Linked DNA regions of Homo sapiens: region 1 is linked to region 2. Evidence: promoter capture Hi-C in human tissues and cell types (Jung and others, 2019). All regions are on one chromosome and are shown on one strand. Each heading gives the region's core, a stretch centred on a gene start or on the middle of the fragment in contact. The rest is flanking DNA. Distances are from core to core; before and after follow the strand shown.

Region 1 (6,564 bases), core at 384-2,883, 360 kb after region 2:
AAGTGAATGACTCCAGTCAGGAAAGAGATAGACGAGGTTGGGGCTGCTTTTCCAAGTACGGGAATCCAACCGAGCCGGGCGGGAGCCCTCCAGCTGGGACCCACCCAGATCTGCAGCTTGATCCTCTTGTCGTTGCGATAGATGGTCTTGACCTTGAAGTCGATGCCCACGGTGCTGACGAAGGCAGGCGTGAACGAGTCGTCAGCATAGCGGAAGAGGAAGGACGTCTTGCCCACGCTGCTGTTGCCGATGATGAGAATCTTGAACATGTAGTCGAAGTTCTGATCCGAGGACTCCTTCTGCCCATAGCGCGAGTCTGTGGCGGATGCCATCTGGGGATACCGGGTGTAGCAGAGCCGTGAGGGGGGCTCTCTCCATCCTCATGTGCCCAAGCCCAGGCAGAAGATGGCAAGGGCTCCAGAAAACGGCCGGTGTATGGAGGACACCCTTATCCCATCAGGAGCCCCAGTATTAATTGGTGGTGCCCCCAGCAGAGGGCAGCCTGTGACCTTGAAATCCTGGGCGTTTCAGAGGAGGGGCTCAGAGGGTTGCCGATGGGGACACCCCAGCAGCCCCCTTCAAGGGGCAGGTGCCCCAGGTGGGGCTGTAACCCTAAACCCAGGGCTGAGCCCGGAGGGGGTGACTGCGGCTGGCTCCGCCCCCCATCAATCTTTCATGGTCCTCAGAACCCGGCCGCGCGGCCCCACGTGCACCGCGTGCATGGTCCCTCGAGGACGCGCATCTGCAGCCCCCGCTCCCCGCAAACCTCCAGGCCGGAGAGCTCCGGCCAAGGCCGCTGCATCACATGATACAGGAGGGGCATGCACACGCTCACGTGCACACAGCCTCAAACACGCTCATCCGTACATACAGGAGTGTGTGAACGCACTGAGGTGCACAGGACAAAGACACAGACACCTGTTTGCACACCGACTCGCCTATAGAAATGTGCAAACCACCCGTGCGCACAGGCCCCTCCACCCATGCAGGCGTGTGCACATCACCCACACGGACACGGATCCCCGTGCTTGTATGCACGGGCCATACCTGCACAGGCGGTCCACACGTCTTTCTCCACGCGCGTGCAACGCTCACACACTTAGGCCCAGACCCCCACGGCGTCACACGAGCATATCCAGGTACACAAGCAAGGGTGCACACAGACCCGCTGACACAGGCAGGCGCGCACACGCGTGTGCACACCACGCGCACGCGCACGCAAAAGCCTCCCGCGCGCACAGCTTCCCGCAAGGAGCTCGGCTCCCCTCCCCCTCCGCCGCAGAGCAGGGGGGTTGGGGGGGTTAGTGGTGAGGATCAGGCAGGAGTGGGGCGCCCGGGCCCTACCCATTCCCAGCCTCGCGACCGCCGCATCCTTCCCCCCATTCAACCCTAGTCAACCTCGTCCCCCACCTCCATCAGCCCATCAGTCAAATGAAGGTTATGCAGGTGCTCGGAGCCTGAGCACACCCGGCCGCCCAGGAGCTCACCTTGCCCTGCACCGATGCAACGGCGACCCTAGCGGCGGTGACTTTTTTGGCGGTGGCGGTGACAGGACCCCGGTGCGTTGATGTGGGGCTGCGCGGCGGCGGCGGCAGCAGCGGCTCAGGCCCCTGCAGTCCTCCGTGACGTCCTGCAAAGGGAGGGGCGGAGCCTCACATGTAGATAAGTCCGTGACGCCATCCGGAGGCGGAGCCGCGCGTAGAGATGTGGCCCATTGACGCACGCAGAGCCAGATGGGGCAGGGCTCCTGAGCAGATTGACGTGCAAATGGGGCGGGGCCTAGCGTGTGCATCCAGTAGGGGCGGGAGCGGCGCGGGGGCCGACTCCGCCTCTCGTCCGCCTCCTGTCCGCCTCGGGGAGGCGGGGCCCCTCAGCGTTCTCTCACTGGCTTAAGCTCTCGAGCGACGGGCGAAGTAGCCAATCAGAGATTGTCTACGCCCTCCTCTTGTCCAATGGTGGCATCTGGGAGATTGAAGGGCCGAGAGGCTGAGGCCTTGGCTGAGCCCCGGTCTTCGAGGGGCGGTTCCCTTACCCGCCCGCACCCACCCCAGGTAGGGGACTCTTGAGGCCACCGTCTAGTCCAAGGTGCTGTGACCCCTGTTAAATGCCCCTGACTCCCAATTGCAGAAAAGAAAAATCGAGGCCCAAGAGATGTTTTATACCCTCACATATATGGGGTTCAAAATAAATACCAAAGAATAAACAGGAGTCAAGAGGGACCCCTGTCCCATTCCCGAGGCGTAAGACCCCCCCACTGAGGGAGGGGCTAGTAAAGACTCCACCCCTCCCCCGTTTCTGAGGTTTGAAAAGAAAGAAGTAGAGGTCAAGAGAGCCTCCCCTCCCCACCATTCCCAGAAAAGGAGGAAGGGGCTGATGGACTCTCTGGGAACCCCCTCCCCTCCCTGCGCCCCGTCATCAAGAAGAAAATTCGAAGAAAAGGTTTAGCAGGGACAGAGAAGCGACCTGTCCCGGAAACCCCTTAAAGCCTGCGGTAAATGCCCCGGGAAACAGGGAGGGCACGAGCCGAAGCCTCCAGCTCTTCAAAGCTCGGATTCAAAGACCCGGGGGCTGGGAGACCCCCTCCCTCCATCCTGGGAAAGCAAAACTCAGAGGATGGAGCCTTTTGGGAGCTAAGATGGTCCATCTTTTATTCCTCCAAATCTTTAGGGAAGGAAGTCAGAATTTGGGGAGGGAGGAGGAGCCCGAAACCCCAGCCCCCACTTTGGGTCTCCTGCTCCCCCTACTCCAGCTTTCAAACCCTCCAGGGGTGTGTGGCCCCCAGGAGAGTCCTGATCCCCTAGATTCTCCCCCCACCCCTCCCAGTAGGCGGGGCTGGAGCGTGTGTGTGTGGCGGGGGGTGACTCGTCCTGTTTATAAAAAGCTCGCCAGCTGCGGAGGCGCCGAGAGACCAGAATAACTTAGCGCCTCGAGGCCCAGCCGCCGCCAACCCAGTCCCCAGCCCGCCCCCAGTGCCCTGGGAGTACTGGGACGCCCACCCCCACGTCCCCGCACCGTTTACATTTGGGAAATTTATTTTTTCTTTTTAGGGTAACATGTTTGCTCCCTCCTCCCCCACTCGGACTATAGAAGTATCACCAATCCACTGCAGAGAAATTGGGAAAATTCAGAAAAACAAAAAATAAAAAGAAATCCACCTCCCATTCTCCCTGCCCTCCGCGCCCACGCGGTAGTCCGTGCTCTGTGGGGGGCTCCAGGGCAGCTGGTCCAGGCCCTGGCCTGCCGCCTCCTTGGAGGGGAGGTTTTTCGGTTGCTCAGCTCCCTGATCGCCCAAAGGCACGCTTCCTACATGGGTGGCTCTCTCGGAAATACCTCCTGCCTTTTTTCCCCAGGAAGAGAAAAGTGAGCCACGAGAATGTGCGGAAGCTTCCGTCACTGACTTAGTATTTTAAAGTAAAAATAGCCGGGTGCGGAGGCTTACGCCTGTAATCCCACCACTTTGGGAGACCAAGGCGGGAGGATCGCTTGAGCCCAGGAATTGGAAACCAGCCTGAGTAACATAGGGAGGCCCCATCTCTACAAAAAATTTAAAAATTAGCTGGATGTGGTGTCGCGTGCTTGTGGACCCAAATACTCCCGAGGCTGAAGTAGGAGGATCACTTGAGCTCAGGAGGTCGAGGCTGTAGGAAACCGTATCGCGCCACTACACTCCAGCCTGGACGACAGAGTGAGACGCTGTCTCAAAAAATTAATTACTTAATTTAAATTTAAAAAGAATGCAAGCCCTTGATTGTCCAGAGCAGCATTGGGCTCTGGAATTAGAAATGGTTGAGCTGGGGGAGGGGCTGCGGGATTGGGGTATTTTCTTTGTGTCAGGGGAGACAGAGCTGGTGGGAGAACGGGCTAGGCTTCCAGGCCGGTCCCACTCAGAGGAAAGTCCAGAGGCTTCCCTGCATCCCTACCCTATCGTCTACACTAGACAAATAAAAATAAAAATGTGGCCAGGTGCGGTGGTTTATGCCTGTAATACCAGCACTTTGGGAGGCCGAGTCAGGAGGATCACTCCTTGACCTTGAGGTCAGGAGTTCGAGACCAGCCTGGCCAACATGGTGAAACCCCATCTCTGCTAAAAATACAAAAATTAGCCCGGTGTGGTGGTGCCTGTCCCAGGAGGCTGCTCAGGAGGCCCAGGCATGAGAATCGCATGAACCAGGGAGGCGGAGGTTGCAGTGAGCTGAGATCACCGGCACCACTGCACGCCAGCCTAGGTGCTAGAGGGAGACTCTGTCTCAAGAAAAAAAAAAAAAAGTATCCCAGATACGGGTCCAGGGACGACTTCTCGGGGAAGAAGACACTAACTTAAAACCCAGTGTGGGGGCCAGGTGTGGTGGCTCATGCCTGTAATCCCAGCACTTTGGGAGGCCGAGGTGGGTGGATCACCTGAGGTCAGAAGTTCAAGACCAGCGTGGTCAACATGGTGAAACCCCATTTCTACTAAATATTAGCCGGGCATGGTGGCGGTCGCCTGTAATCCCTGCTACTTGGGAGGCTGAGGCAGGAGAATCGCTTGAACCCGGGAGGCAGAGGTTGCAGTGAGCCAAGATCACGCCATTGTCCTCCAGCCTGGGCAACAAGAGCGAAACTTTGTCTAAAACAAAAATAAAAACAAAAATCTAATGGGTGAGGCTGGGGGCTGAGAGAGAAGCATTCCAGGTAGTGGGAACAGCTTGTTTGAAGGCCCTGTGGTGGGACCAGGCTTGCAGTGTGGCCAGAGCAGATGCAGTCAGTAAGAGGAGAGGGACAAATGCCTTTGGCTCAAACTGAAGGAGAACATATGAATATTCATTTATAAGAAATATGAATATTCTAGGGCTGGGTGCAGTGGCTCATGCCTGTAATCCCAGCACTTTGGGAGGCCGAGGCAGGCGGATCATGAGGTCAGGAGTTCAAGACCAGCCTGGCCAACATGGTGAAAACCCAGTCTCTACTAAAAATACAAAAATTAGCTGGGCATGGTGGTGGGCACCTGTAATCCCAGCTACTCAGGAGACTGAGGCAGGAGAATCGTTTGAACCCAGGAGGCGGAGGTTGCAGTTAGCCAAGATCACACCATTGCACTCCCGCCTGGGCGACAAGGCGAGACGCAAAGAAAGAAAGAAAGAGAAAGGGAAAAGGAAAGAAAAGAAAGACAGAGAAAGAAAGAAAAGAAAAGAAAGAAAAAAATATGAATTTTTTTTTTTTTTTTGAGACAGTCTCGCTCTGTCACCCAGGCTAGAGTGCAGTGGCTCGATCTTGGCTCACTGCAAGCTCCGCCTCCCGGGTTCAGGCCATTCTCCTGCCTCAGCCTCCCGAGTAGCTGGGACTACAGGCGCCTGCAACCACGCCCGGCTAATTTTTTGTATTTTTAGTAGAGACGGGGTTTCACTGTTAGCCAGGACGGTCTCGATCTCCTGACCTCGTGATCCGCCCGCCTCGGCCTCCCAAAGTGCTGGGATTACAGGCGTGAGCCACCGCGCCCAGCCAAAAATATGAATATCTTATAACAGATGGAGAAAAACTAGAGGGAAATAAGTCAAAATACTGCAGATAATCCATGGGTGGAGATACAGCAGAATTTTATTTCCTTCTTTATACATTTCCATTATTTCCAAATTTTTTACAGCGAACATGGTATTACTTTGTAAGCGGACTGGGGGGAAAAATCTTGAAAAAAAAATTCCCTAAATATCTTCTTTTTAAAAGTCTGGAAGGAAATGCACCAAGTTCGTGAACCCGGATGACTTTTAGTTCTGGCACTGTGGAATTTTATCATTAACTGTGATGATGATGAATTCTGAGTGGTTATAATATTTATGAACGAAGCCAGCTGCTCTGGAAGCCGAGGGCGGCTGTGATGACGCCTGTATCTTGTATAAATATTCAGGCACGCGAAGAGGGAGGCAGAGGGGAGGGATGGATACTGAGGCTTCCGGAGGCGGGGATCGAACCCTAGGCTTGAGCATGGTGCTGCCCAGTCCGCTCGGAGGCCCGACCAGCAGGACGAGCTCTTCCCGGCGAGGTGCGGTAAGTGGGACCATCAGGGCTGGAGGATGCCACCCCTCCGACCCACCCCCCAACCCCCGACAAGCGCGCCCCGCCGTGTCTCCCACGCCCGCCACCAGGGGGTGCCGCTGGCTAACATTGGGCGCCCAGATGCTTGACTTTGAGCTGGCAAGAGGACCTCTCTGCGCCTCAGTTTCCTCATCAGTGAAATGGCCAGGACACTCAATTTGGTCAATCGAATGTCTTAAGATGTAAAGATTTTATTTAACCCCAGATAAATGCTCAGTACCCCAAATGTCTAAGATATTTCAGGGAGGTCACAGACAACAACCCCCCACACCTCGTCGGAGTTTATCCAAGTACTAGGATCAGGTTACAGAGGGGAAACTGAGGCCCAGAAGAGGCTATGATGGCAAGAAAGCCTCAGGGGCCTCCCTCCCTCTAGGGGGAGTCTGAGGCAGTTTCAGGAATCAGGAGACTTAGAGACCTGCTAGAGAGGGAAAATTGTGTGTTTTTGTTGCTGTCCTAGGGAAGGAGGAACACGTAGGGGACCCAGTATGGAGT
Region 2 (6,505 bases), core at 2,140-4,639:
GTTTGAGACCTGCCTGGCCAACATGGCGAAACCCTGCCTCTAAAAAGTGCAAAACTTAGCCGGGTGTGGTGGTGCGTTCCTGTAATCCCAGCAACTCGGGAGGCTGAGGCAGGACAATCACTTGAACCTGGGAGGCAGAGGTTGCAGTGAGCCAAGATTGTACCACTGCACTCCAGCCTGGACAACAGAGTCAGACTCTGTCTCAAAAAAAAAAAAAAAAAGAAAGAAAGAAAGAAAGAAAGAAGGAAAGCCTCCCTGGGATGGGCCCAGGAGGAAACTGGCCCCCTGCTTCCAGCCCCCAACACCTCCCACCCGCTCGCTCACTTGCCCTGAGAAACCTCAGCACTCAGGGCCCTCAGCTGGGTGGGGCCAGGGGTGGGGCTTCGAGTCCCCTGAGAAAAATTGGGGAGAAAAAGGAGGTCACTCAAATTGACCTGAATGAAGAAGATCTGAAGAAAGTGTTGGGAAAAACAAACAAAAACCTAAGTTCCAGCAGGGCGCAGTGGCTCATGTCTGTAATCCCATCATTTCCGGAGGCCAAGAAGGAAGGATAGCTTGAGACCAGGAGTTTGTTTTATGTTTTTTGCTTTTTTGAGACAGAGTCTCGCGCTGTCACCCAGGCTGGAGTGCAGTGGCGCAATCTCAGCTCACTGCAACCTCCGCCTCCCAAGTTCAAGAGATTCTCGTGCCTCAGCCACCCCAGTAGCTGGGATTACAGGTGGGCACCACCACGCCCAGCTAATTTTCTTGTATTTTTAGTAGAGATGGGGTTTCACTGATCTCAAACTCCTGGCCTCAAGTGATCAGCCTGCCTCAGCCTCCCAAAATGCTGGATTACATGTGTGAGCCACCGCGCCTGGCCGAGACCAGGAGTTTGAAACCAGACTGGGCAATATAGTGAGACCTCCTCTCAAAAAGAAAAAAAAGCCTTGTAATCCCAGCACTTTGACAGGCCGAGGCAGGTGGATCACTTGAGGCTAGGATTTTGAGACCTCATCTCTAAAAAATTAGCAGGGCATGGTGGCACACCCCCATAGTCCTAGCTACTTGGGAGGCTGAGACAGGAGGATGCCTTCAGCTCTGCAAGTTGAGGCTGCATTGAGCTATGATCACACCACTGCACTCCAGCCTGGGCGACAGAGCAAGACCTTATCTCTAGAAAAAAAACACAATACAAAAACTATGATCCAAAATAATGCCCTGTGGCTGGGGTGGGGCGGCATTAATGAGGGTTTTTTTGTTTTTGTTTTGAGACAGAGTCTAGCTCTGTCATCCAGGCTGGAGTGCAGTGGCACAATCTCGGCTTACTCTGCATCCTGGGTTCAAGTGATTCTCCTGCCTCAGCCTCCCAAGTAGCTGGGATTACAGGGGCACGCCACCATGCCCGGCTAATTTTTGTATTTTTGGTAGAGACGGGGTTTCACCATGTTGGCGAGGCTGGTCTGGAACTCCTGACCTCGAGTGATCCTCCTGCCTCGGACTCCCAAAGTGCTGGGATTACCGGCGTGAGAAACTGCGCCTGGCCTAATGAGGTTTAAGACAATCAGAGGACTAGGACCCCTAGGACTCAGCTTTCGCAGCTGTGAAATGGGCTGACTCCCCAGCATCCTCATTGAGGTGGTCTGCTGAGCGCAATCCAGGCCTAAAGTGTCAACTCAATTAATGTGCATTAATTTGTATATTTCTTGATGATGTGCCGGTAAGCGATCAACAAACGCCTGTTAAACCAAACAGGAAGGGCAATTGGCACAGCGGTGTGGTGGTTACTGTGGGAAGGGAAGTCTTGTGGGGGAAAGAACCTTACCAAAGGGACACTTTGATGTCACCGATGCCCAGACCAAGAATGAGCACATTCCTAGTCCCGGGAACCTTGGAGGAGCCCCATCTCTCCCACAGAGAGATTGATGTCTAGTTTTGCCCTTTATAGAAATAAAATCACACACCATAGCCTCTCTATCGTCCCCTCAACATCAGCCAATCAAGTTTTTTGGTTTGTTTGTTTGTTTTTTTGAGACGGAGTCTCGCACTGTCACCCAGGCTGGAGTGCAGTCGCACGATCTTGGCTCACTGTAGCCTCTGCCTCCTGGGTTCAAGCGATTCTCATGCCTCAGCTTCCCAAGTGGCTGGGATTACAGGCGCGCACCACAGCGCCCAGCTAATTTTTGTATTTTTAGTAGAGACGGAGTTTCACCATGTTGGCCAGGCTGGTCTCAAACTCCTGGCCTCAGGTGATTCGCCTGCCTTGGCCTCCCAAAGTGCTGTGATTACACACGTGAGCCACATTGCCCAGCCTTTTTATTTATTTATTTATTTTGTAGGGGGGAGGACGGATTCTTGTTCTGTCTCCCAGGCTGGAGTGCAGTGGCATGATCTCGGCTCACTGCAAACTCCACCTCCCAGGTTCAAGCGATTCTCCTGCCTCAGCCTCCTGAGTAGCTGGAATTACAGGCACCCGCCACCAAACCTGGCTAATTTTTGTGTTTTTAGTAGAGATAGGGTTTCACCATGTTGACCAGGCTGATCTCGAACTCCTGACCTCCAGTGATCCGCTGGCCTCAGCCTCCCAAAGTGTTGGGATTAAAGGCATGAGCCACTGTGCCCAGCCCCAGTCGAGTTTAAAATAAGGCTTCAGTGGCAGTGGCGCCCCACTGCAATCCCAGCTACTCAGGGGGCTGAGGCAGCAGGATAGCTTGAGGCCAGGGGTTAGAGACCTGCCTGAACAACATAGCAAGACTCCCATCTCCAAAACAACAAAAAAATCTTAACAGAATATTATTATTCTGTAATACTGTAACAAAAAAAAATGAAAAGTCAGAGGTGATGTTTGGTCCCAGAAAACGCCATAGTTTTTTTGGTTTTTTAAAAATGTTTGTAGAAATGGAGGTCTGGCTATGTTGCCCAGGCTGGCCTTGAACTCCTGGCCTCAAGCTATCCTCCCGCCTCGGCATCCCCTGTTTATAATCCTCAACGTTCTGCATCCTGGTATGGTCGGGTACCCTGTGTCTGGACCGGGAAGGCCTGGAGGGTAGGGGCTGGGAACTCCGCCCCCCAATCCCTCCTTCCCAATCCCTCCTCCCCACCCCCAACCCCGCAGCCCCCGTCGCGCATGCGCAATGACTCCTCCAGGTCCGCAAGGCAGGCATCTCCCGGCCTTAGTCAAAGCCGAAGCCCAGAGAAGCGAGCGATCGGAGGATGCGAGTCTCGGCTCACGTCTGCCTCGCAGCTTTCCTCCGAGGCCTGGAAGGCGAGCTAGCCTTTGCCCTGGCAGCACCCTGCCCCAGCCCAGCCATCCCCCGCCACCACCATCCTCCCCCAGTGTCTGGGCCGAGCCCTGCGGCATCGCCAGCTCTTACCTAGCGGGCAGGGACCCTGGACTTTCGAAGGGCGGGCAGAGCCGGGAGGCAGCGAGAGGAAAGTCCCACTCGGCTCCTTCCTGTGTGGGCCCCTTGGTTTCCTGAGCCACTGTCATTTACCGAAAGTCAGGGCCCTGCGGGAGCTGGGGGCGGGGAGGCGGGCAAGGAGGGGCAGAAAGTTCCGGAAGCCTCTGCATCAGCCGCCCCGTTCAGACAGGCTGCTGGAGACCCCTAAGCCAAAGGAACTGATGATAGCACAGAGAAGGGTCTGGGTCACACCAGGGGCTCAGCCGACTCTAGACCCACTTGTTAAGTGGGGCTCTGGCCCGGCCCTTATTGCCTCAGTTTACCCATCTGTAGCATGTGTGAGTTGGGCACCCAGTGGAACTAATTTTGCACCCAGGGAAGGAAACCTGGCTGGATTTGCCCAGGAGGGAAGCAGGGAAGTTGCCCCAGAGGAAGGTCAAGTTCTTCTTTGAGGTATTTCTCCCTTAAGACTCAGGGAGACGCTGGGCGCAGTGGCTCACGCCTGTCATCCCAGCACTTTGGGAGACTGAGGCGGGCGATTACTTGAGGTCAGGAGTTTGAGACCAGCCTAGCCAACATGGCGAAACTCCGTCTCTACTAAAAATACAAAAATTAGCCAGGCGTGGTGGCCTGTAATCGCAGCACTTTGGGAGGCTGAGGCGGGCGGATCACTTGAAGTCAGGAGTTTGAGACCAGCCTGGCCAACATGATGAAACCCTGTCTCTACTAAAAACAGGAAAATTAGCCAGGCCTGGTGATGCCTGTAATCCTAGCTACTCAGGAGGCTGAGGTGGGAGGATTGCTTGAATCTAGGAGGCGGATGTTACAGTGAGACGAGATGGCGCCACTGCACTCCAGCCTGGCAACAGAGCGGGACTTCGTTTAAAAAAAAAAGAAAAGACTCAGGGAGAGATAATGACCCATTTCTGCCTGTGGTGCCCTGGGCCCAGCCCTAAAAAACCAGGTGGATCCGGCCTGGCCTCTTGGAACTTGTGATCTGGCGCTGAGACAATGAGCAAATGAAGGAGCCAAATCATCGCAGACAACAAAGAAAGCCAGGGTGTCAGGACAGGCACAGACTGGAACTTGGACCCGAGGCAGGACAGGGAGCTGGCCAGGGAAAGGGTGCTCCAGGAGGAGGGCACAGGATGGGCAAAGACCTTGAGAGGGCAGTGATCTTAGCAGCTTGAAGAGCAGTCAGGAGGCCAGGGGCAGGGGTGAGATGAGGGGGAAGGGGACTGCAGGGCGGTCAACAGGGGCAAGATCGTGGGGGGACAGGGGGATCAGGGTCTTTGGGAGAAGGGTGGGTTTTGCCTGGAGCATAATCTGGAGCCACAGGAGAGTTGGAAGTAGGAGCTGTTATAAATAGAAGAGGCAGAAGGCCCGGGCAGCATCCAAATGCAGAGACTTGGGCCAGTGTTCTTAGGATAATAGGATCAGAGCCCCGGAAGTAGAGCTTCAGGAATAGACTGACGAAGTGGTGACCGGGTACAGTGGCTCACATCTGTAATTCCAGCACTTTGGAAGGCCCAGGTGGGAAGATTGCTTGAGCCTAGGAGTTCGAGACCAGCCTGGCCAACATGGTGAAACCCCATCTCTACTAAAAATATAAAAATTAGCTGGGCGTGGTGGCATGTGCCTGTAATCCCAGCTACTTGGGAGGCTGAGGCAGGAGAATCACTGGAACCCAGGAGGCAGGCGGAGGTTGTAGTGAGCTGAGATTGTGCCACCGCACTCCAGCCTGGGCGACGGAGCAATACTCTGTCTCAAAAAAAAAAAAAGGAATAGATTTAAGAAGTTGTGGCCAAGAACAGTGGCTCACACCTGTAATCTCAGCACTTTGGGAGGCTCAGGCAGGAGGATGGCTTGAGCCCAGGTGTTCGAGACCAGCCTGGGCAACATGGTGAAACCCTGTCTCTACAAAAAATACAACAACAACAAAATAATAAGCTGGATGTGGTGGCATGTGCCTGTAGTCCCAGCTACTAGGGGAGGCTGAGGTGGGAGGATCACCTGAGCCCAGGAAGTTGAGGCTGCAGTTAGCTGTGGTCATGCCACTGCACTCCAGCCTGGGCAATGGGAGTGAGATCCCGTCTCAAAAAAAAAAAAAAAAAGACTTTTCATCTCTGTATCACCATCACAAGTCTTAACACAAAATGGTTTGGTAAGTATTTTGTTGATCTTAACTGTTCAATCAGCCAGAGGCTTATTGGACACAGCCTGTGTGCAGGGAATCGGGGACAATGCAGACCCAATCCCTGTCCAGGGGAGCTGACAGTCCAGCAGGGGAGATGGCAATAAACAAGCTATTGCCCAATAATTATATCAGTTGCCCCTGGGACCGGTCTGCTAAGAGAGATGACTGGATCTGGGAGGGCTTCCTGGAGGAGGTGGCTTTGATTCTGAAATCCAACAACAAGTGGGACTAGCCAGAGAGTGACCTGAGAATGTGGGAGTGTGGGCAGTTCTGGCAGGCAGAACAGCCCAGGCAAAGGCCTGGAGGCTTCACGAATTCACAGTGTTCCTGAGAAGAGCAGGATGTCAGGGACACGGGGGGCTGAGACTCATTTGATGGCGTGGGTAGGGCCGCGTGGGTCAAGGGAAAGAGATATAGATTATGTCCTCAGCTTAGTGGAGCTTAGTGGAGCCACAGCTGACCTGCGGCAGGAAGTGCCAAGCAGAAGCTTAGTTGTAGTGTTTTCTTTCACTTCCTGGGTGGCTTCAGCAGACGGGAATGCAACCTTATGTTCTCATCCTTGGCCTGAGGCTGAAGCCTCTGCTTTCCGGAAGTACAGTGAGTTTCTGGGTCTCTGCTACCTCCAGTGTGATGGTTTCTGCAATATTTTGAGAATAAGTAAGAGGAGATTGGGGTGAGGACCAAAGTGGTACCTTCAGCCCCAGAGAAGGGCATGTGAAGGCTCTAAAAGGAAGTTCTGGCCGGGCGCGGTGGCTCACGCCTATAATCCCAGCACTTTGGGAGGCCGAGGCGGGCGGATCGCCTGAGGTTAGGAGTTCGAGACCGGCCTTGCCAACCTGGTGAAACCCCATCTCTACTAAAAATACAAAACGCAGCTGGGTGTGGTGGCGGGCGCCTGCAGTCCCAGCTACTCAGGAGGCTGAGGCAA

The links. The method cuts DNA at HindIII sites, captures the fragments that hold promoters and counts their contacts. A contact is called where the count stands out against the background at its distance.
Region 1: the fragment with the promoter of RAB3A here is called in contact with the fragment with the promoter of JAK3 in region 2 in 1 of the 25 tissues and cell types used here (spleen).

The regions. Positions count from the first base shown.
Region 1 is chr19:18,202,409-18,208,972 of GRCh38, forward strand. RAB3A (RAB3A, member RAS oncogene family) reads right to left here and starts at 1,634. Exons shown (of 5, transcript NM_002866.5): 1 at 1,488-1,634; 2 at 105-332. The coding sequence starts at 332. It overlaps LOC102725254 (a long non-coding RNA gene), which reads left to right and starts at 2,322. Exons shown (of 2, transcript NR_134910.1): 1 at 2,322-2,491; 2 at 3,048-3,155. PDE4C (phosphodiesterase 4C) reads right to left here. Exons shown (of 15, transcript NM_001098818.4): 15 at 5,557-6,564. RefSeq lists enhancers at 876-1,658, 1,691-1,985, 2,171-2,270 and silencers at 1,651-2,040, 2,926-2,985. The HindIII fragment of the contact is 10,728 bases long and covers 1-5,684 here.
Region 2 is chr19:17,844,593-17,851,097 of GRCh38, forward strand. JAK3 (Janus kinase 3) reads right to left here and starts at 3,390. Exons shown (of 24, transcript NM_000215.4): 1 at 3,354-3,390. The HindIII fragment of the contact is 13,300 bases long and covers 1-6,505 here.